Regions from separate parts of the Homo sapiens genome. Here regions 1, 2, 3, 5 and 6 are each linked to region 4. The links are contacts of gene promoters, found by promoter capture Hi-C in blood cells and fetal thymus (Javierre and others, 2016). All regions are on one chromosome and are shown on one strand. The core of a region is centred on a gene start or on the middle of the fragment in contact, and the rest is flanking DNA. Distances in the headings are between cores, read along the strand shown. Region 1 overlaps CENPK (centromere protein K). Region 2 holds the start of SREK1 (splicing regulatory glutamic acid and lysine rich protein 1). Region 3 holds the start of TNPO1 (transportin 1). Region 4 holds the start of TAF9 (TATA-box binding protein associated factor 9). Region 5 overlaps SGTB (small glutamine rich tetratricopeptide repeat co-chaperone beta). Region 6 holds the start of UTP15 (UTP15 small subunit processome component).

The links. The method cuts DNA at HindIII sites, captures the fragments that hold promoters and counts their contacts. A CHiCAGO score of 5 or more calls a contact.
Region 1: a contact is called between a fragment that was not itself captured here and the fragment with the promoter of TAF9 in region 4, in 1 of 17 cell types (fetal thymus). The highest score is 7.9, in fetal thymus.
Region 2: a contact is called between the fragment with the promoter of SREK1 here and the fragment with the promoter of TAF9 in region 4, in 2 of 17 cell types (fetal thymus and total B cells). The highest score is 6.9, in fetal thymus.
Region 3: the fragment with the promoter of TNPO1 here is called in contact with the fragment with the promoter of TAF9 in region 4 in 1 of 17 cell types (total B cells); the score reaches 5.6 in total B cells.
Region 5: a contact is called between a fragment that was not itself captured here and the fragment with the promoter of TAF9 in region 4, in 1 of 17 cell types (neutrophils). The highest score is 6.4, in neutrophils.
Region 6: a contact is called between a fragment that was not itself captured here and the fragment with the promoter of TAF9 in region 4, in 3 of 17 cell types (total B cells, total CD4 T cells and non-activated CD4 T cells). The highest score is 7.5, in total B cells.

Annotation. Positions count from the first base shown.
Region 1 is chr5:65,556,228-65,559,636 of GRCh38, forward strand. All of the region lies in intron 2 of CENPK (centromere protein K), which reads right to left. Among named protein-coding and RNA genes, the nearest start is that of CENPK, 5.2 kb to the right of the region's middle. RefSeq lists an enhancer at 3,227-3,409. The HindIII fragment of the contact is 8,637 bases long and covers 1-3,409 here.
Region 2 is chr5:66,142,559-66,145,606 of GRCh38, forward strand. SREK1 (splicing regulatory glutamic acid and lysine rich protein 1) reads left to right here and starts at 1,742. Exons shown (of 12, transcript NM_001077199.3): 1 at 1,742-1,979. The coding sequence starts at 1,819. RefSeq lists a silencer at 1,523-1,592 and enhancers at 1,773-2,052, 2,313-2,372, 2,433-2,482. The HindIII fragment of the contact is 9,482 bases long and covers 1-2,609 here.
Region 3 is chr5:72,815,210-72,818,258 of GRCh38, forward strand. It overlaps TNPO1 (transportin 1), which reads left to right and starts at 1,452. Exons shown (of 25, transcript NM_002270.4): 1 at 1,452-1,543. The coding sequence starts at 1,529. TNPO1-DT (TNPO1 divergent transcript) reads right to left here and starts at 1,339. Exons shown (of 9, transcript NR_186518.1): 1 at 944-1,339. RefSeq lists enhancers at 1,019-1,098, 2,179-2,228 and silencers at 1,359-1,458, 1,499-1,718. The HindIII fragment of the contact is 3,194 bases long and covers 1-2,432 here.
Region 4 is chr5:69,367,282-69,370,769 of GRCh38, forward strand. TAF9 (TATA-box binding protein associated factor 9) reads right to left here and starts at 2,239. Exons shown (of 3, transcript NM_003187.5): 1 at 2,182-2,239. It overlaps AK6 (adenylate kinase 6), which reads right to left and starts at 2,239. Exons shown (of 5, transcript NM_016283.5): 1 at 2,182-2,239. The coding sequence starts at 2,209. RAD17 (RAD17 checkpoint clamp loader component) reads left to right here and starts at 2,537. Exons shown (of 19, transcript NM_133338.3): 1 at 2,537-2,652. RefSeq lists an enhancer at 2,791-3,340. The HindIII fragment of the contact is 4,867 bases long and covers 1-2,720 here.
Region 5 is chr5:65,715,916-65,719,416 of GRCh38, forward strand. All of the region lies in intron 2 of SGTB (small glutamine rich tetratricopeptide repeat co-chaperone beta), which reads right to left. Among named protein-coding and RNA genes, the nearest start is that of SGTB, 4.4 kb to the right of the region's middle. The HindIII fragment of the contact is 6,188 bases long and covers 1-3,501 here.
Region 6 is chr5:73,565,332-73,568,630 of GRCh38, forward strand. UTP15 (UTP15 small subunit processome component) reads left to right here and starts at 412. Exons shown (of 13, transcript NM_032175.4): 1 at 412-581; 2 at 1,931-2,103; 3 at 2,904-2,996; 4 at 3,089-3,273. The coding sequence starts at 2,014. It overlaps ANKRA2 (ankyrin repeat family A member 2), which reads right to left and starts at 308. Exons shown (of 9, transcript NM_023039.5): 1 at 1-308. RefSeq lists enhancers at 1-122, 1-551, 123-677. The HindIII fragment of the contact is 442 bases long and covers 1,452-1,893 here.

The DNA.
Region 1 (3,409 bases), core at 288-2,787, 3.8 Mb before region 4:
TTTGGGAGGCCAAGGTCGTAGGATCACTTGAGTTCAGGAGTTCCAGAACAGCCTGGCAACAAAGTAAGACCCCTATCTCTATAAAAAAATTTTAAAAATTAGCTGGGTGAGGTGGCCCAGTCCTGTAGCCCAAGCTGCTCAGGAGGCAGGGGCAGGAAGATCGCTTGAGTCCAGGAGTTCAAGGTTATAGTAAGCTATGATCACACCACTGCATTTCAGCCTGGGTGACAGAGACAAACTCTGTCTCTAAATTAGAAAATAAAAAAAGAAAGAAAATATTGTTGCACAGTTATACAACATGTTTATGTTTTAAGCTGTTTTTATGAAAGAGTTGATATGTTAAAAAATTAAAAAGATAAAGCAAAAAACTTACAGCAAGCTAAGGTTAATTTATTATTGAATAATTAAAAAAATAAATTTAGTATAGCCTAAGTGTACAGTATTTACAAAGTCTACAGTAGGGTACAGTAATGTCCTAGGCCTTCATATCTTCTCACAACTCACTGACTCATCTAGAGCAACTTCTAGTCCTATAAGCTACATTCATGGTAAAAGCCCTAGACAGGTGTTCCACTTTTTGTCTTTCATACCATTTTTTTTACTGTACCGTTTCTATGTTTAGAAATGTTTAAATACAAAAATACCATTCTGTTACAATTACCTACGGTATTCAGCCTAGGTATGTAGTAGGTTATACCATCTAGGTTTGTGCTCACATGATGAAATCATCTAACAATGCATTTCTCAACACATATCCCCGTTGTTAAGTGACACATGACTGTACTTACAGTTGTGAGGATAGGTGAAATAAGAAAAGGAAGAGTGTGCAGCTAGAAATGAGAAGATCTTCAGGCCAGGAGCTATTGAGGTAAGAACCAACTGAATAGTCTGAGAAGGAGCACTCAGTAAGTTAAGAGGAAAATCAAGAGCATGATACCCTGAAATCCAAGAATGTATTCAAGGAAGGAATGATAACTGTCAAACACTGGAGACAGGTCAAGTAAATTACAGAGAATTGACAATTTATTTAGTAATATAGAGGAGCAAACTGTTTTTTCTAAAAATACTCACAGCAATATTTCATCATTCCCCATCAAGAGACAGAGTCTTTTTCCTCTCCCCCTGAAACTGAGTGTGACTTTGTGGCTGTCTTTATAAAGAGAATACAATGAAAATGACACCACATGACTTTCAAGACTAAGTCATAAAAGGCAATATAGCTAACTTCTGGCTTTCTGTGTCTTGGAACACTCACCCTTGCAACCCAGGCACCATGTTATGCGAAAGCCCAAAGTAGCACAAAAGGAAGAGATCAACATAAAGTCCATGAGGAAAGGAACTGAGGTTCCCAGACAAACGCTGGTATCAACTCCCAGACATACACACGATCATTTCTGACAATTAAGCCCCTAGGCTTTGATCTTCTAGCCAAGGCTCCAGATACTGTGGAACAGAGAAGCTGCTCCTGCTGTGTCTTGTCTGAATTTCTAATGCACAAAACTCATGAGCGTAATAAATAGTTGTTTTACACCTCTACATTCTGGGGTAATTTATCACAACAATTTTCTTGGAGTAAACATACAAAAATGAAGGCCACAGATAACCTTCATAGGAGTAGTTTTAGAAGAATGGCAAGAATAAAAATCTGATTGGAGTGGATTCAAGAAAGAATGGAAGGCAAGGAATTAAAAATATTAAGTATATGAAACGTTTTCAAGAACGTTTTCTCTAGCCAGGCATGGCAGCACATGCCTGTATTCCAAGGTATTCAGGAGCTGAGGTGAGAGGATCACTTGAGCCCGGTGAACCCAGGAGACTGAGGCTGCAGTGAGCCACAATCACACAACTGCACTCCACCCTGGGTGACAAAGCAAGACCGTTAAGACCATACCAAAAACAAACAAACAAAACAAACAAAAAGAAAACACACACACACACATTTTTTTTTCTTTAAAGCACAAGAGAGAAATACAGTTAGTAGCTGGAGGGAGATATAGGGTTAAAAGAGACTTTTTCTTTTTTAAAGATGGGAGAAAATATAGCATCTTTATACGGTACAGTAAAAGAAGGAAATGTTGCTAATACAAGAGAGAAAGGGGAGAAGAAAGAATGGGATCTAGTACATAAGTAGAGGTGTTGGCTTAAGATAAATGGACATGCAGTTCATCCATTTTAATGGGAGGGTCATCAGAATATCAAGAGTGTAGATGCAGGTAGGTAAGTAGACGTGTTGCTAGGAACTTGTAGAAATTCTATGTGGATTGTTTCTCTTTTCTCCGTAAAATGGTAACTACGGTTATCAGCTATGAAAGGATGGGAAGAAAGTACTGCGAGTTTAAGAGCACAGGAAAAGAGATGTATAAAACAGATATATAAAAAAATGGGAGAGGATAAAGTTACAGGATTATTCAGTAGTAGCATTACAGGCTCACCTGAGATTAGTATCATGAGTTTAAAGTAAAACCAGAGCATGGTTGTATGTTTTCTTCTATGGTGTAGCACCACAGGTACAGACAGGGACAAAGTGAAAGAATGGCCATAGGAATAAGTAGCTAAGACAAGAGAGAACATAATCACTAGGGGAAAGAAGGTCAAGAAAAAGAGAGGCCAAGTTATTGGATCATCTATAAGGATATTAAAATCACTAAGAATTATGATAGTAGTACTGCAAAGGGCAATGAGCCAGGAGCTAAAAATCTTCAAGGAATGAGGGTGAGTAAAACAATCTTGCTAGATGATTCCTGCAAAGAATGGAAGAGGATTAGAGTCTGGTGGCATAAGATTCAAAACTGGGCAATTTTAAGGAGGTAGACAGTGCAATAAAGAATGATGAGGATGTCTACCCCACATCAAACGCAAATCAGAATACCCCTCCTCAATATCTTTATTCATATGGAACTTCTGCATTTTATACTGCTTAATCAATAACTTATTAACAGAGAAGTTCTAAGGCAGACCTAAATAAATGGAAAGATACTTCATATTCATGGACTGAAAGACCCACATTGTAAAGACGTTAATTCTCCCCCAAGTTGAGCTACTGAATCTTAACCAAAATCCTGAAAGTTTTTGTTTCTCTTTATGGGACTTGACAAGCAAATTGTAAAATTTACATGGAAGGGCCGGGCGCGGTGGCTCACGCCTGTAATCCCAGCACTTTGGGAGGCCGAGGCGGGCGGATCACGAGGTCAGGAGATCGAGACCATCCCGGCTAAAAGGGTGAAACCCCGTCTCTACTAAAAATACAAAAAATTAGCCGGGCGTAGTGGCGGGCGCCTGTAGTCCCAGCTACTTGGGAGGCTGAGGCAGGAGAATGGCGTGAACCCGGGAGGCGGAGCTTGCAGTGAGCCGAGATCCCGCCACTGCACTCCAGCCTGGGCGACAGAGCGAGACTCCGTCTCAGAAAAAA
Region 2 (3,048 bases), core at 492-2,991, 3.2 Mb before region 4:
TTACATAGATAAATTCATGTCATGGGGGTTTGTTGTACAGATTATTTCATCATCCAGGTATTAAGCCCAGTGCTCAATAATTTTTTCTGCTCCTCTCCCTCCTTCCACCCTCCACCCTCAAGTAGACCACAGTGACTGACGTTTCCTTCTTTGTGATCATGAGTTTTCTGTGTATTCGATCTGTTGTGATATGTTTTGGTTGAAATATATGAGGGAAATCTGATCTCATAAAGATAAGGTGTTGGAAAAGGGAAAACTACTTTATAGCCTTTCCAGATAGTTCTAGATATTATTCTTTGATACGGTACCAAACTTACATGTGGTAGTTTCTTAGCCTTCATTGCAGTGTGGACTGAATCTGAAACCACATCAATTAAGCACTGAAATCCATCAATCTATCTTGCACATACCAGAGGCTTTTTGCCTTTGTAATGGCACCCACTGGCCATTTGAAAAATAGGTGTCCACTAAGTTGTAAAGATCACAAAAATGTTGACATATTTCATTATATAGTCAAAAATAAATTGTTAATATAATGCTTCTTTTACTAGAAAAGTCTTTAAGTACTGGCAAGCTGTCAAGCTCAAGCTGGTGGATACAAGTGTAATAAAATTTGTATTTTTAGGTGAAAATTCAAAGAATTACACTAGTGCTTTTTCCGGAGACAACCATTTCACTTGGGCATGTAGCGGCAGTAGTTTCCATTTTTTCACACATATTCTTTAAAAGACGTGTAAGCAAGGATGGATTTGAAAAAAAAATACAATTTTTAGTTATTTGTGAAGGACATTTTTAAAGTGAAACTAGCATACTTTAAAACCTTAAATGTTGTATGATGTGAAGAATACAAAATGCAACTACCAGTACAAGACTGGCGCCACTGCCTTGATTGCTGCTAAGGTGTCAGCAGTTTAATCTTTTACGTTACCAGTGCAAATGGCAACAAAGTGAAAAAGGTCAAGAAACTCTTAATATTATTACGAAAATCGTTTTGACCTTGCCAACTTACTGAAAAGGTCTCGGTACCCTTAGGGATCTGCGGAGGGCATTTTGGGAGCAGCTGCCATGGACTCACTACTGTTGTCTCTCATTAGGTTGCAAGTTCTATGTGAACTGTCTTTAACTGTCTGTTACGTGCCCTTGCCTAATAGTGCCTGGGACATAGCACTCAATAAACATCAACACCTGTGGAACGAGGGAATTAAAAACAGGTTATAAACAACCCCTGCACAGCCTTCATCTTACTGCCTCTTTCCTTAATTCAACCTGAACCTACGCATTTTGTAAAATTTTGTTTTTTTCACAATTAGGACGCCTGCCAACTTTTAAAAATAGTTGGAGTTGGGGTGCTGCCTGTATGTGATAAGGCTGCCCTATAGTTTGGTCAAGTGTTCTTCCGTGTTGTCCAAGAGTCATTCCTTCTTTACAGTCCCGCACCAGTAGGCCAGGCCGCTTGGTTTCCCAATCCGAGACCGGAAGGAACCGGGTAGACATGAGCACAAGACTCTCATCGACTTTTGGGGAAAACAAAAACACCGATAAAAATCCAGGCGGTGAAACGAGCAGCAACAGCCCCAGGGACCCGGGAGCTGGAGGCCGCAGCCGCGCGAGAACCGCCGGGTTGCCGGGGCGACGCTTCCGGCTGGCGCGCGCAGCCCCGGGAGCAGGGGAGTTGTGAAATGGGCGGCTAGATCTGCCCGGCGCTGTGAATTCGCCAGCGGGAGCGCGCTCGCGGCCGCGCGTTCTCCGCTTTCCCGGCTCCGTCGCTGACGCGTCGTAGACGTTGGGGAGCGGGAAGGCAACGGCAGCGGGATCGGGATGAACAGCGGCGGCGGCTTCGGTTTGGGCTTAGGCTTCGGCCTCACCCCCACGTCGGTGATTCAGGTGACGAATCTGTCGTCGGCGGTGACCAGCGAGCAGATGCGGACGCTTTTTTCCTTCCTAGGAGAAATCGAGGAGCTGCGGCTCTACCCCCCGGAGTAAGTGCTGGAGCTCGGCTGGGGGAGGGGCGCGGGCGCCATAGAGACCTCGGGAGCCGAGGCGTGGAGGAGAGCGCGGACGCGGGCGCGCGGTGCATGTCACGTGATCGCGCCGGCTTACCTTGGTGCCCATATTTGATTAGGGCACCCGGGTTCCGCCGTCCTGCTCTCCTTAGTCGGATTTGGGGGGTTAACTACTGCACGGAGCCCTTACCAAGGATTTAGAATGGTTGCCCTTTCTGTGCCTCCGGGACTTGTGTTCGCTGCTGGGTCTTCGAATTCCGTGCCCCCACCCTCTTATTTCCCCCCGAACTTAAGATGGCCGCAGGTGGGCCCGGAACAGCCCTCATGGCAAACGTCTCAGAGCGTTTTTCCACTCTGAAAATCGCGGAGACCGCGCCTGAGCCACAGTCCAGTTTTTAAGGCCTTGGTGTCAGGCCGTTTTGCTGACGAGAAAGCCTGCTGCTGGTGACAAGATGGAACTGGGGCTGTGTTTGTTTCCCAGGACGGTCGCACAAACTTAGCATTTTGGTTTATCTAACCGAGCGCATCCATGTTCCCAAAGATCATGTCTGTTAGCCCTTTTGACAGCAGATTAAATTTTCCTCCTGAAAGGTCACACTGTCCCAAAGCTTTCAGAAAAAGTGTAAGTCGGTGCAGGGTTATCCCTCCCGTATACATTTAAAGTCCAGATCTTGGCTGGCATTCACAGCTCGCGGCCACTTCCCAGATAGTGTATTTTGGAATGGTAAAATTTCCCTCGTACGATATTATTTAGAAAACTCGCAAGGGGTTTGTAGGTTGTTCACATTCTTGCACACAAACTTTTTTTCTTTTTTAATGGTAGATCTTACAGTATTAAGATCCTCCGTTTTTTGTTCATTATATCAAAATCCTTTGAGGGAAGGGGTAATTGTTACCCAAGATTTATTTCTTTAAAAAAATTTTGATTTATTTCCTAGTGATGCATTTAGACCTATTTTTCTTTAGTTTTCTATCTCAGGTTATAACAGTGCTGTTGCATAACTATATAAAAGTTGTGTGGATATTTAAAATTTACTTTTTAAGT
Region 3 (3,049 bases), core at 202-2,701, 3.4 Mb after region 4:
AAATGCAGAAATAAGCCATTTGTTATTTGGATAAATATACTTTTTCTGGGTATATTTTCCTGCAGATAAACTACCATTCAGAAAAGTTTATATTACATTTTTTTCTTGGTAATCTACTCCTATTTGGGGGGGGGGGCTCTTTTTGATATACACTACTGTATCCAATTACTATCAAATTAATATTATAACATGTTGAAATCATGAATATTTTAGTTATCTATATTTTCCCTTGCTAAGTTCAATTTCCCAATGATTAAAAAATGGTACTTTTAGTCTCAAATTTTAAGTTAAATAAACTAGTTGTTCCTGCAAAATGACTGTAATTCAAATGAAAATTGTTAACACGTTTAGAAGAACAAATAAATTACCTTAGTAAAAATTTAGACATTTTCTAGTATTATGTACTGTAATTTTACCTAAACTATGACAGGAAGGCAACAACTGTCACACATTTTCAAAATATATACAGCACTTCCAGTAAGATAGTCGGAACTGCTGGTATTTCTACTCACACTGATCATGTGAGGAATATTATCACGGGCATCATCACCTTAGAAAATAAAAATCAGCTAGCTATGCAAATTTTAAGTATTTTTATACAGTAAATTTTACATATAAGAATAATCTGAGGGAAGGAAACTGATATTTATCTCATTACCCTTGTTGCAGTTGGGTATAAAAACGTCCACCACTCCCATTTTGAATCATTTGCCGTACAGAAAATACAGGACATTTTAATTTCTCATGATGGCAGGTTAGGGAGAGAAAGGCTTGTTATTTCTAAGAGCAAGAAACTACAGTTTTATAGGATTGAACACCTGGAGGCGTAAACATTTTATAAATCACTGAATTCTAATTACATAGTAGTTTATACGCCAGATACAACATACGTCAAAAGCCTATCTTGTTCTAAGCGGGCAGCCATCCACCGGCGTCTACCTACCGAAGCCATTTCTGCTTTTTACCAGCGACGCTGGAACAGTGTTATTGTGGGATATGTTCAGTGTTGAACAGGCTCCCAGGGCACGGCTGTTACTTTGGAGGTTATGCTGGGGTACAGAAGTTAGGCTGGGGCAGGGCCATCCACCTAGGAGGGCCCAGCACAGTCTGGGCAACCACACCGGCGGGCCGTTTTGCTCACAGCCCCACCGCGCCGGGCAGCGTCTGCAGCTGCTGCGTGCGAGACCCAGAGGCTCCGGTCAGCGCGCCGGCCGCAGGGAGTGCGAGCACTTGTGAGCCCCGCGCCGGGCCGGTGAAGTCTGGTGCTGCCGAGCCCGCTTAGAAAGCACGGCCGCGCGCTGTCGGACGCAGGCCCACAGGCCCAGCCGACCCAGGCAGCAATTTTCCTAGCCCCGCCGCCGTTGCCAAGGCGACCGCCGCCGAATGTTCCCGCCGCGGGCTCCGCCCCCCGGCCAATCGGACCGGCGCTCGGTGAAGCCCAGATTCTCTTTGTTCCGCAGCCATTTCAGGCCCCGGACAGGAGGCAGTGCCGCTTCGGCCGAAGGCCCGAGCGCCCGAGGCGTCTGGGATGGTGTGGGACCGGGTAGGTGGCGTGAGGGTGCGCGGCCCCGAACTGCAGGGGCGGGAACGGAGGCTGGGAGCGCCGAGCTGCCTGACGCGCCTACGGGAGAGACGCCGGGCTCGCCCGCTCTCTCGGCGCCTGCCCGGCCGTTTGAAGCCGAGAGGCAGCGGCGGCGCGGTTCTAACCCCAACAGCTGCCCGCCCAGGCGCCCTGCGGGACCCGGGTAGGGAGCAGGCGACGGCGGCTCCTCAAGCGTCCGAGGATCCCGTTAGGGGCGGCAGGAGCCCGTTACAAGGGGCGGGAAGGGAAGGGTCTTACATTCAGGGGAGCGTTTGCCTCGCCTGTTAAGCTGTGGCGTTTGAGGGCCCTTGAGTGCTGCAGTCGGCTGCCCCGGGACGGCTGCCTTTCACTGGTTCTGGGCGCTGGCCGGCGCTGCCCGAGATGGGCCAGTCTTTGTCCCGCCCTGGGCCCCTCTGCCCGGGTCTCCTGCGTCCGCACACAGCGCCCATCGTCCTTACATGCAGCTTGCCGTTCTCTTCCTCCCGGCGGTTCTTTCTCCTTGGGGCCTCTTGGCCTCACGACATGTTTACATAATGTTTGTGACTGTACGAGTTTTGCGTGGGCTTGTGGGTTTTGCCCTTCTACCTCCACTCCCATGCGTACAAGCAACAGGGAACAGCTGCTGAGGAGCAGATTGGCCACCACAATCAAGCTATTTTCGGAATGACTTTCTTTAAAAATGATCGCGTGTTGCTTACTGATTTTAAAAATCAACTGGATTTTGCAAGGATTGCTTAGAGTTTAAGTCTGTTATCTTAATCGCTAATCAGGATGGTCTATCAGTAGATGTAAATGTAGAAATTTGAAATTGGAGGCTATCTACAAATTGATTTTGACAGCTGTATTAAGAAGCTTAATAACTGTCCTTTGAAACAGTAATGACTTAAATGATGAATGTGTAAGTGGTACTTTTTTTACCCTAAAGAAAAGATACTTTTAAAATTGCAAGATGTATGGTGTAATAGGTGTTTGGAAATGAAGGTTGTAAAATGGCTGTCCTGACGTACTACTCACTTTTAGAATAACAAAAGTTCCTGCAGCTTTTTAAGTTTCCCTGTTATATCAAAGCTTTCATGTTAGAGTGGTGAAGAAGCTATGTTTAGTGGAAAAGGGGAAAGTTCCGTTTTTTGGGAAAGGATCTGTTTTCCACTTTCACCTTACCTGGCACCGTAGTTGTTCCTAGAGAAGGCTGTGCCAGGATGAAAATTAGCAACCACAAAAGGGAAACAATAGTTTGTAGGTGCAGATATCTTTTTTAGTCTCTAGCTATGCAGTGCATAAATTTATACTAGCTTGGCAGTACGATTTTTACTTCATGCAATTTAACGTGAGCCTAATGAAGTACTAGTGTTCTGTTTTCTTTTTCCTAAAAGGGGCCGCCACCCTTGATGTGGCTGCATCTTTCTCCTAGTCAGGAATTATTAAATTCCTCCCACTGAAATATCTATAAAAATCTTGTTTGCACTT
Region 4 (3,488 bases), core at 989-3,488:
GCGGGCAGATCACAAGGTCAGGAGATTGAGACAATCCTGGCCAACATAGTGAAACTACATCTCTATTAAAATACAAAAATTAGCCGGGCGTGGTGGCGCGTGCCTGTAATCCCAGCTACTCAGGAGGCTGAGGCAGGAGAATCCCTTGAACCAGGTAGTTGTAGGATGCAGTGAGCCAAGATCGCGCCACAGCACTCCAGCCTGGCGACAGAGACTCCATCTCAAAAAAAAAAAAAAAAAAATTAGCCACCTCGAATCAATTACAATAATTTATTTACCTTTTTCTTTTTTTAAAGACAAGATATCTCTTTGTTACCTAGGCTGGAGTGCAGTGGAACTTGGCTCACTAGAGCCTTTACCTCCTGGGCTCAAGCAATCCTCCCATCTCAGCCTGTCCGGTAGCTAGGACCACAGGTATGCACCACCATGCCCTGGTTAATTTTTGTAGAGACGGGGTTTGGCTATGTTGCTTAGGCTAAGCTCAAACTCCTGAGCTCAAGCGATCTCCCCACCTCCACCTCCCAAAGTGCTGGGATTTACAGGCATGAGCCACCCACCTGGCCTATTTGCTTTAACTTATAAAGATTTAAAAACTGTTCATGGCCACGTGTGGTGGCTCGCGCGTGTAATCCCAGCAATTTGGGAGGAGAAGGCGGGAGGATCGCTTAAGCGCAGGAGTTCGAGACCAGCCTGGCCAACATAATGAGACTCTGTCTCAAACAAAAACAAAAACAAGAACAAAAACAAAACTGTTCATGTTAAAATTAAGCAGTCTGAAAATTACCTCTACTGACCCCTTGCGCCCTTCCCTAGAGATAACCACTGTAAACCAGTTTCCTTTCCCAAAGAAACCCTATTTATGTTTGCATGTAAATGTACATATATGTACATACTCTTTGTTATATAAATACAACACATATTCCCTTTTACATAAATGACAATACTATATACATTGTTCTTTACCTTCCCCTTCTGATACCTATTAAAATTACATTTCAAGATCATCAAATTCATAATTTTCAGCTATTCAGATTTAACATCCCTGAAATTAAACTTAAGCATAAAGATAACAGGGATAATCCAGTTCCCATACCCAGGAGAATAACGGTCACCTCAAGTCCACTATAATACACCAAGTCTGAACCCTGGACTCAACATGTTTTCAATAAAATGTTCACTTTAAAGTTTTGACAATGACTTAATAACCAGGGCACTATGTTTGATCCATGCAAAAAGATGTAAAATCTTCCGCTTAAGGAATCTAAAATTCTAAACGTTATTTGTGGGGTGGTTAATCTGCACCTCTCAGAAACAGACATGTCTTGTGCGCTGCCAACAATTTTACCTTTGGGTGAATGATGTAACTTTACTGTTCCCACAAAGAGTCTTAATTTTTCTGTACCTTGCAATAAAATCTACATGCATTAGATTTTTCCACGAATGGCCTACAATTTGATAAACACTTTCAGGACTAAACGGCTAGCAAAAATATTCGTTAAAGTCGTTATGCAGCATTTTAATTCCCTTCACTGATAACATGCACCCTGAGTATGGCTTCAAAGACCCACTCCTACGCGAGAAACGACCCGAAATGCTCTATATGCCTTCCTTTTAAGGGGCGGGGGGATCCTTTGATGTAACTCAACAAAAGCATACAGCAATTTCGTCACGTCACAAACATCTGAACTCGTTTACCGAAATCTAATCTGAGGCGTTTATCAGAAGCAAAGAAAAAATAAAATACGGCCCACGGAGGCCTAAGGAGTGAGGCATCCACCATTAATGACTCTACCGGGAAGCAGATATGGCCTTACGTTATTTCGCTAAAAATCCCAAGGCCAACCCTGCCAAAGAATCAACAACCCATTTTACAAACGAAATACCAGATTCAGAAAGACTAAGCAGGTTGCCAAGCTGGAGAGCTGGATCTGCCGACCTCTCTCCACCCCCCCCCGCCCCCCCCCGGAGCCTCAGGCCAACGGAATTAACGTTCCGCGTCCCCTCCCTCGCCTCCCGCAACGCCCGCGAGGGTCGGCTCCCGGGGCGCTGACAACCGCCTCGTGGCCCTCGGCCGGCCTCTGAAGAGGGCAGTGAGGGGCCCCCACCTGGGCGCCCGATGCCCAGAGCACTCTGCGCCCCCAGCCTGCCCCAGCCCAGTCCCTCCCGGCCGCGCGCCCTGACCGGTGAGCAGGATGTTCGGAAGCAACATGGTCCCCGCCGCGACGGCTTCGGGCGCCTCGCTCACGTGCCCTTTGCTCTACAGGGAGGAGCCGGAAGGGGCGGGCGGCAGCAAAAGCCCACGGCCCCAAAGGCCCCGAAGCCCACCGCGGCGCCCCTAGCCTGCCCCGGCGGCCCAGCCGCGGCCCACTGGTTACCTGGCTTTCGATGACACATTTCCGTCGCAAAGTTGGAGGGTGGGCATAACTCGGGTCGGTACTTCGGGTCAGGCAGTGCGCTGGATGCCTAAGTCACACACTCCTTCGGTGGTCCCCGCCCTTCGCTTGCGCCGACCAGTCTGGAAGGTCCCCGGGAGGCCGTACCTCCGAGAGGCTCGGCGTTGAGCCCGGGTAGGGCCAGGTGGCTGCCCTTTCACCTAGGGTAGTCCCTGGTCGCCTCCGCTCTTCGCCTAAAAGGGGATGCAGCTCCGGGAAAGTAAGGCCGCCGCGGTTGCGGCTATATTATGTATATGTCTTAGAGACGTGAGTCTATCTCTGCCTTCAAGCTTTCCTGGGCTCTCGTCGCTCCTCCTCCCGACCCGCCCATCCCATCTGGGGATGAGAAGATTGAGGGTGCAGAGCCCTGTCCTGCAGCGGGGATTTGCGAGCTCAACCCGGCACCCCACTGATTACAGGATTACGTTGGACGAATATTTGAGCTTAGTATTCCCTGTTCACTGTGTGGGGTGGTGGTGGGTCGGCTAGGAATAGTCTTGAAGGTCTACCTCTGACATCTCATTTCAGTAACCTCGCATCTTCAGGGACAGTTATCTGCTTTTTAAAGGAGGTAATTGTCAATCTTGTTTTCAAGAGTGAATAGAGACCTGACCGTGACAACAGTCTGCACCTTTTTTTGTTTGTTTGTTTGTTTTTGTTTTGTTTTGAGACGGAGTCTCACTCTTGTCGCCCAGGCTGGAGTGCAACCTCCGCCTCCTGGGTTCAAGTGATTCTCCTGCCTTAGCCTCCAGAGTAGCTGGGATTACAGGCGCCCACCACCACGCCCGGCTAATTTTTGCATTTTTAATAGAGACGGGGTTTCACCATGTTTTGGCCAGGCTGGTCTCAAACTCCTGACCTCAGATGATCCGCCCGCCTCGTCCTCCCACGGTGCTGGGATTACAGGCATGAGCCACCGCGTCCGGCCCCTGGTCTGCATCTTTTATTTCGAGCTACAAACTATATTTACTCAAATAGGTGTTTTTTTTCCACCTGTATACCTTTTGAAACGTCACAGTCTCTAATCGTGAACGATTTGGGGCGGAGGGCTGAACA
Region 5 (3,501 bases), core at 284-2,783, 3.7 Mb before region 4:
TGTGCCACCACGCCTGGCTAATTTTTGTATTTTTAGTAGAGAGGGAGTTTCACCATGTTGGCCAGGCTGGTCTCAAATTCCCGACCTCAAGTGATCCGCCCGCCTCGGCCTCCCGAAGTACTGGGATTACAGGTGTGAGCCACCGCACCCGGCCCACAGCTGCAGGTTTAACAGAGAGTTCAGGGTAGGCCTTACTGAGAAAAGAGATTTGACAAAGACTTAAAGGAGACGGGGGTGTTAGCATTATCTGTGAAGACCATTCCAGGCAGAGGAACCAGCCAGAGCAAAAGCCCTTAGGCAAGAGGATATGGTACATTTATAAAGAGAAAGCTAATAATGGCTGAAGCCAAATGAGAAAGGGGAGGAGTAGGTGAACAATATGTCACAGAAGTCAAATTATATAGATCCTTTAAACAATGTTTTGAGTAGATAAATGATAGAAACTCACATACTCTGTTTGTAAAGATCACTGGTGCCTGTGTTTGGAACAGCCAATGGAGGGGCAAGAATAGAAGCAGAGAGACCAGTTAGAGGCTATCACACTAAAACAGTCAAGAAATAGTTCAGTCCAGAGGTGGTATAAGAGATGTCAAATCTAGACATATTTTGAAAGTGTAGCCAACAGGATTTATTGAATGATTAGTTACAGGGTATTTGAGAAAGAGAAGAGTCCAGAATGATACCCAAGTTTCTGGCCTGAGCAACAGAAAAGATGACGCTGACATAAACAGAGATTGGGAAATTGCATACAGAACAGATTTTGGGTGGGGGAATCAGAAGTTCGGTTTTGGCCATGTTAAATTTGGGATGCCTATTAGACATGCAAGTGGAGATATCTAGTAGGTACTTGGATATATAAGACCTTCAGAAGAAAGGTCTGGGCTGAGGGCATAAATTTGGGAAATAGCATATAAATAAGGGGTATTTAAGGCTAAGAAGCCGAATGATATCACCAAAGAAATGGGTATAGATAATGAAAAGAAGAGGATCAAGCAGTGGACCCTGGGTACACCAGGTCAGGGAAAAGAAGAGGAACCAGAAAAGGGGACAGAAAAGAAGCAAACAATGAGATAAGAAAGCCAAGAAAGTATGAGGTATCCTGGAAACTAAATAAAATATACTGGGGGTGGTGGGGGTCATTTCATGAGGAAATGACCATCAACATTATCAATGACAGCTAATAACTCAGATGAAAGCTGAGAACTGACCATTAAATTAAACAACACAGAAATCACTAATGTCCTTGATGAGAGTGGTATAGATTGAGAGATTGAGGCAAAGGCTTAATCAGAATGGGTTTAAGAAGAATAGAAGGAGAGGAGTTGGAGAAAGCAAGTATAGACCATTCTTTCAAATGGTTTTGCTGCAAAGGGAGACATACAATTAAGCAGTAATTATTTGCTGTTTGTTTTTGCTTTTTTGAAGAAGGGAGAATAATGGTAAGTTTATATGATGATGGAAATGATCCAGTAGGGTATGAAAATTTTATGATGTAAGATTAAAAAAATAAAATAACTAAAGTGATATCCTGGAGTAGGTGAGACAGGATGGGATCTAGTATACCAGTAGAGGGGTTCCATTTAGAAAGGAACATGAATAGTCCATCTATGGTAATAGCTAGTCAAACAGGCAGGCAGGCCGAGTATGTGGGTGCCATCATATCCAGCTATTTTCTTATTATTTCAGCTTTCTTGGTGGAGTAGAAAGCAAGGTAACCAACTAAAAGTGAGGACAGTGAAGGAGGTTTGAGGGTTTGAGAAGATATGAGAAAGTGTTAAAATGGTCATCTAGGAAAATAAATGTATGAATGAACTTAGAACAGATACTGTGATTGCCTGACAGCATTAAAGGTCTACTTGAAGTTCACAGTCATGAATTTAAAGTGGGACTAGTCAGCAAAGTTGTGTGTTTTGCTCCATTTATTTACGGCTACATGAGTGGGTGTGAGTAGTTGGGCACAAAGTAGGTGGAGAGTTGGATTTAAACAAAGTTGGGCTTTGCAAGAAAGGGAAGGAGATACAAGGGAATAATTATAATTATCAACCATGGAATTTAAGATGAGTAAGAAGAGGTGTGGGGAAAGGTGAGGCATGAACAGATTGGAGGTACTGGTTGGGTCAAAGAATAGCTGGAGTAGGGATTCTAGAGGGAGTAATCTTGGAAAGACAGGCAATAGTGGTCAGGAAGTGAAATGTTTGGGATAGAGATTAGGGAAGGAATGCAATTCTGGTAATGATTAAGTCTAGGGAAGGCTTTCTCAATCTCCGCATACTGACATTTTGGATCAGGTAATTTCTTCTTGTCAGGGGCTGTCCTGTGCATTAGCAGCATCCATGGCCTCTACCTACTCACTAGATGCCAATAATACCAGCCACCCGCCTCACCCAGTTGTGACAATCAGAATGTATCCAGATATTGCAAAATCACCCCCAAGTTGAGAACCACTGATCTAGAATATGATCAAGTGTTTGAGATCACTGGATGAGGTCAATAACTGAGAGCCAGGGAACTAAAATAATCATCAATCAGTATATTGCAATTGCCAAGAACTAAATAGGAGTAGTGCTAGAGAGAGTGACAGTGAGCAGGAACCACAATTAGTCAAGGAATGAAGCAAATGTCAGTAGATGACAATAATTAAGAGGAGTGGGTGACATAATCTGATGGCAAGACAAAGCTGATGATATACCAGCTTCACAGTAGTGGTAAAGCTGGTATTAGAACTGAGGCTTCTTTCCTAGGGCTTTTAAAAATGTCTAGAAGGTGGGCAGACACCTCCACATGATTTCATGTTCAATTAAATTAGACTCACAGAGTCAAAAATAGGGGTCAGTCAAAAACAATTGGCACCCTTTCTGACTGCCATATATAACAAACAGCTGAAGGCACATATTTTTGGCTGAATACCATCCTAAAAATAGGACATAACATCTTGGTTTGAAAAAAAAACCCTCAATTTTCTTTCTGGCCCTTAAAACTTTTATGCTGCTTTTGATTAGAAAAGAAACATCTTTTCTTAAATGACTGCATTTATCTGTTTGCTACAGAGCAATCATAACTAACATTCTCCTTAGATAACCAATCAACTTTATTTTCACATAGTCTAATCATCAAGGAGAACAAAAAGACCTTAATATTAAATGGACTGATTGCAATGTTCTCCAACTGTGCATCACCTGCTCCTCTCACTGCCACCTGGAAAGACATCAACTAACCAGACTGCAAGGAGGTTTAGAGCAAATGCCCAATTTTCATCTCCACCTCCTAAAAGCATATTCACAGGGAAATGCTTGTTGAAATTATAGAAGCAGTTTCAAGATGGGATTTATAACTATACTGTCATTTATTAAGTTCTTCCAAATGCACTCTCACTGCAATAATTAAGACTTTGGGGCTGGGAGGGGTGGCTCATGCCTGTAATCTCAGTACTTTGGGAGGCCAAGGCGAGTGGATCACTTGAGCCCAGGAGTTTGAGAACAGCCTGGGCAACATGGCGAAACT
Region 6 (3,299 bases), core at 423-2,922, 4.2 Mb after region 4:
CGCGACCACCGACGACAGCAGACAGCGAGTCGGGCCTTCCCATCTGAGGCCAGCTTCAGTACAGGCCTCCAAGCCCGGGCTTGTTTTGGCCGCGACGTCACTTCCGATTTCTTCTTTCGCCTTCTGGCTAAAAAACGTTCCGCAGCAATGCAGCTGAAACTTTCGGGTTTTCTTTTTTTTGTCCCTCTCTCCTTTTTTTTAATATTTTTGTTTTTGCCGCCTTTACGCTCCGAGGCCCATCCTGCCGGAGTACTACACAGACAGGGTCATTTCAGTTGACGGTTCTGGGTCACCAGAGCAGAGGAAGCCCCAATTTCGCCCTCCGGTCACACCTCCTACTCCAGATCGCCCCGCCCACCTGACCCGCCTCTGCGCCGCCGGGCTGCGTGAGTCTCATGAGCGTGCTCTGGTACGTCATCTTCGCGCGACGTTCGGTTCGCTGTGTGTGTCGCCGGCTCCTTGAGGGTCCATGTGATTTTTACGCCAGTGCTGCTGAACTGTGCAGGGTAGGGAGCTGGCACAGTCCGATTAATTGTCCTTGGGTCGAGGTGTCTCGTCGGACCCTTTGGGGCTCAGTGGAGGTAGGTGAAGGCGGCTCCCATTGAGGGAAGCCCACACTCACACCCGGCCTTCCTGTGTTAATCTGGCATGCTCTTCTGGGGCTTCCCAGGCTATATAGGAGAGTGGCCAAATTCTTTAACCGGCTCAAGTTCCCCTCAATTAAGCTTCGACCTAGGTTCTTCTCTGCGATTACACCCTTTCCTGTCCACCGTTGTTAGTTCCCGGAGTAATCAGCAACTCTCCAAGGCAATGGACACATTTCCATCTTTGCCTTTGCTTACGAGGCTCCCTCAGGTGAAGTGAACCTAATGGAGTTTTAAAATATTTGGGAGATAAAATCAGCAGATCTTGTTAACTATTTGGATGTTAGGAGTGAGGAAGAAAAGGACACGTCAAGGCTGAGTCTAGGTTAATATCTGGTGCCAGTCACCAGCCAAAATGGAGTATATTGGAGTAAGCAAAGGCACAGACCATGTCTTTATTTCATTCACCATTATAGCCCCAGTGCCTAGAGCAGTGTCCTGCACATTGGTAGGTACTTTAATGAACAGAAGAGTGTTCCCAAAGACCAGTGAAATACAATCATTGGTCATTGTATTTCATTAAAGCACCTTTTAAATATATGTTACACCTATTTATCGTGGTGTTACTAATGTAAAGTTTTCAGGCTTTTTGGAATAGATGATGAGCAGCACCTCTGGAATCATTTACCTGATAACATTGAATCTCTTTTGCAATTGAGTCGTTCTGGAAAAATGTTTTGGCTTGATTGCATGTTATTTAAAAGTTTTATCCTATTCTGCCACTTTAGTGTTGAATTTAATTTCAGGACTGCTTTATTACAGTTTTCTTTCCTACTGTTTAAACCTTTTAAAGTAAATTTAATTTTAAGCTTCTACATTAGAATATTAGCTTTGTGTTTCTTACTTCTTGGCATTTTTAGGCTTTCAGGAAATCAAATCCGTAACTATAATTGTTATAGATTAAATGTCATCTTAAACTTGGTTTCAGGAAACTTGTATTTGCAGTTTCACCTTAATATTTCCTGTTGCCAAAAAATGGACACTCAAAGCCAGCATGATCCTTTTTGGTTTGGCTACTGTAAGGCTGTGCTAGATTTATTCCTAAGTGTTGTAAAATGGTTGGCTAGGTGTGAGAACCTTTGTGTACAGCTGAATAGATGGTGCGATATGATAGCCTTCACTTTAATTATTCCTGCTTCCTATAGATTGCCTTTTCTGGGTTAGAATTAAATGGCTTATTGGTCTCTAATCTATATACTTCCACACAGACTTTTTAAAGAAAGCAGAGTGAAAATCAACTATGTGTACAAGCTTATAATATGTATATAAAATATTTTATTTTTCAGAATTAAGGCAGAGTCACTGTAATTATTTCTAATACCAATTCCAAAATAGTGACTCTTGGACAATAGTGCAATTATATGGAATTATGGCTGGTTATAAGCCTGTAGCTATTCAGACATATCCTATACTTGGTGAAAAAATCACCCAAGATACACTGTACTGGAACAACTATAAGGTGAGTGTGGGACGTAATGAGGGAGAAGGGATTTGTGTTTATGCCAATTTCTCTAGCATATGTTATACTCTGGATGCTCTAACAGAGAATTATTAACTGAAAACCATCTATCAGCAGCTTATAGTTTGGGCAGATAATTTGATATCTATTTTTTCTTGGAATTTTATGTAAAAGTCCATACTGCTTAATCAGATTAACCATACAAATGCCTAGCACAGAACAGATGATCAATCAATGCCAAATGAATTAAATTTTAAAATTTGAATCTCATATGTGTAAAGATGTTTATTGAAGTATTGCTTGTAATAGTAGAAATCTTGAAAAACCCATGTCTATTAGTAGTGGACTGGTATAGTAAATTACAGTGTGCCCTTATAATGGATGGTAAGTCTATTGCTCCTATGAAAGCTAATATGTGTTACTAAGTGAAAAGAAGCAAGATGTGGAACAGCCTACATGGTATGATTATCTTTTTGTTATTTTAAAAGTACAAGTACGTGGTTATTGTATGCTGGTGTAGACATGATAACTTTTTTTTTCTGGTAGAAATCACAGTAAACTCAATAGCTGAAGAGACAGAGTGGGGTGTGGCTTTCTAACCATATGTTTATTTCAGTGGCAACAAGAATAGTCTGGGTGATGAGATATGTACCTTTTTTGCTTTCTTTGTAATTTTATGTTAAATACAACTTAAGAAATGTTACTAAGAACAAAGAGAAACGGTCTGTAAGAAATTATGTAATGCATAAATAGGTCTTACCAGTGGTAACTCTGTTAACACACTATTATTTTTTATTAAGACCCCTGTTCAGATTAAGGAATTTGGTGCAGTTTCAAAAGTAGACTTTTCTCCTCAGCCTCCATATAATTATGCTGTCACAGCTTCCTCAAGAGTAAGTATAATATTAAATTTCTTTATTTTTCTTTTGTATAGTTTACTACTGATCTTGAGCCATCTGGTGAAATACTGTTTTTCATCTTGTAGATTCACATTTATGGCCGATACTCCCAAGAACCTATAAAAACCTTTTCTCGATTTAAAGACACAGCATACTGTGCTACTTTTCGACAAGATGGTAGATTGCTTGTGGCTGGCAGTGAAGATGGTGGAGTTCAACTTTTTGATATAAGTGGGAGGGCTCCCCTCAGGCAGTTTGAAGGCCATACAAAGTAAGAGACAGTTGGTTTCTGTGTGT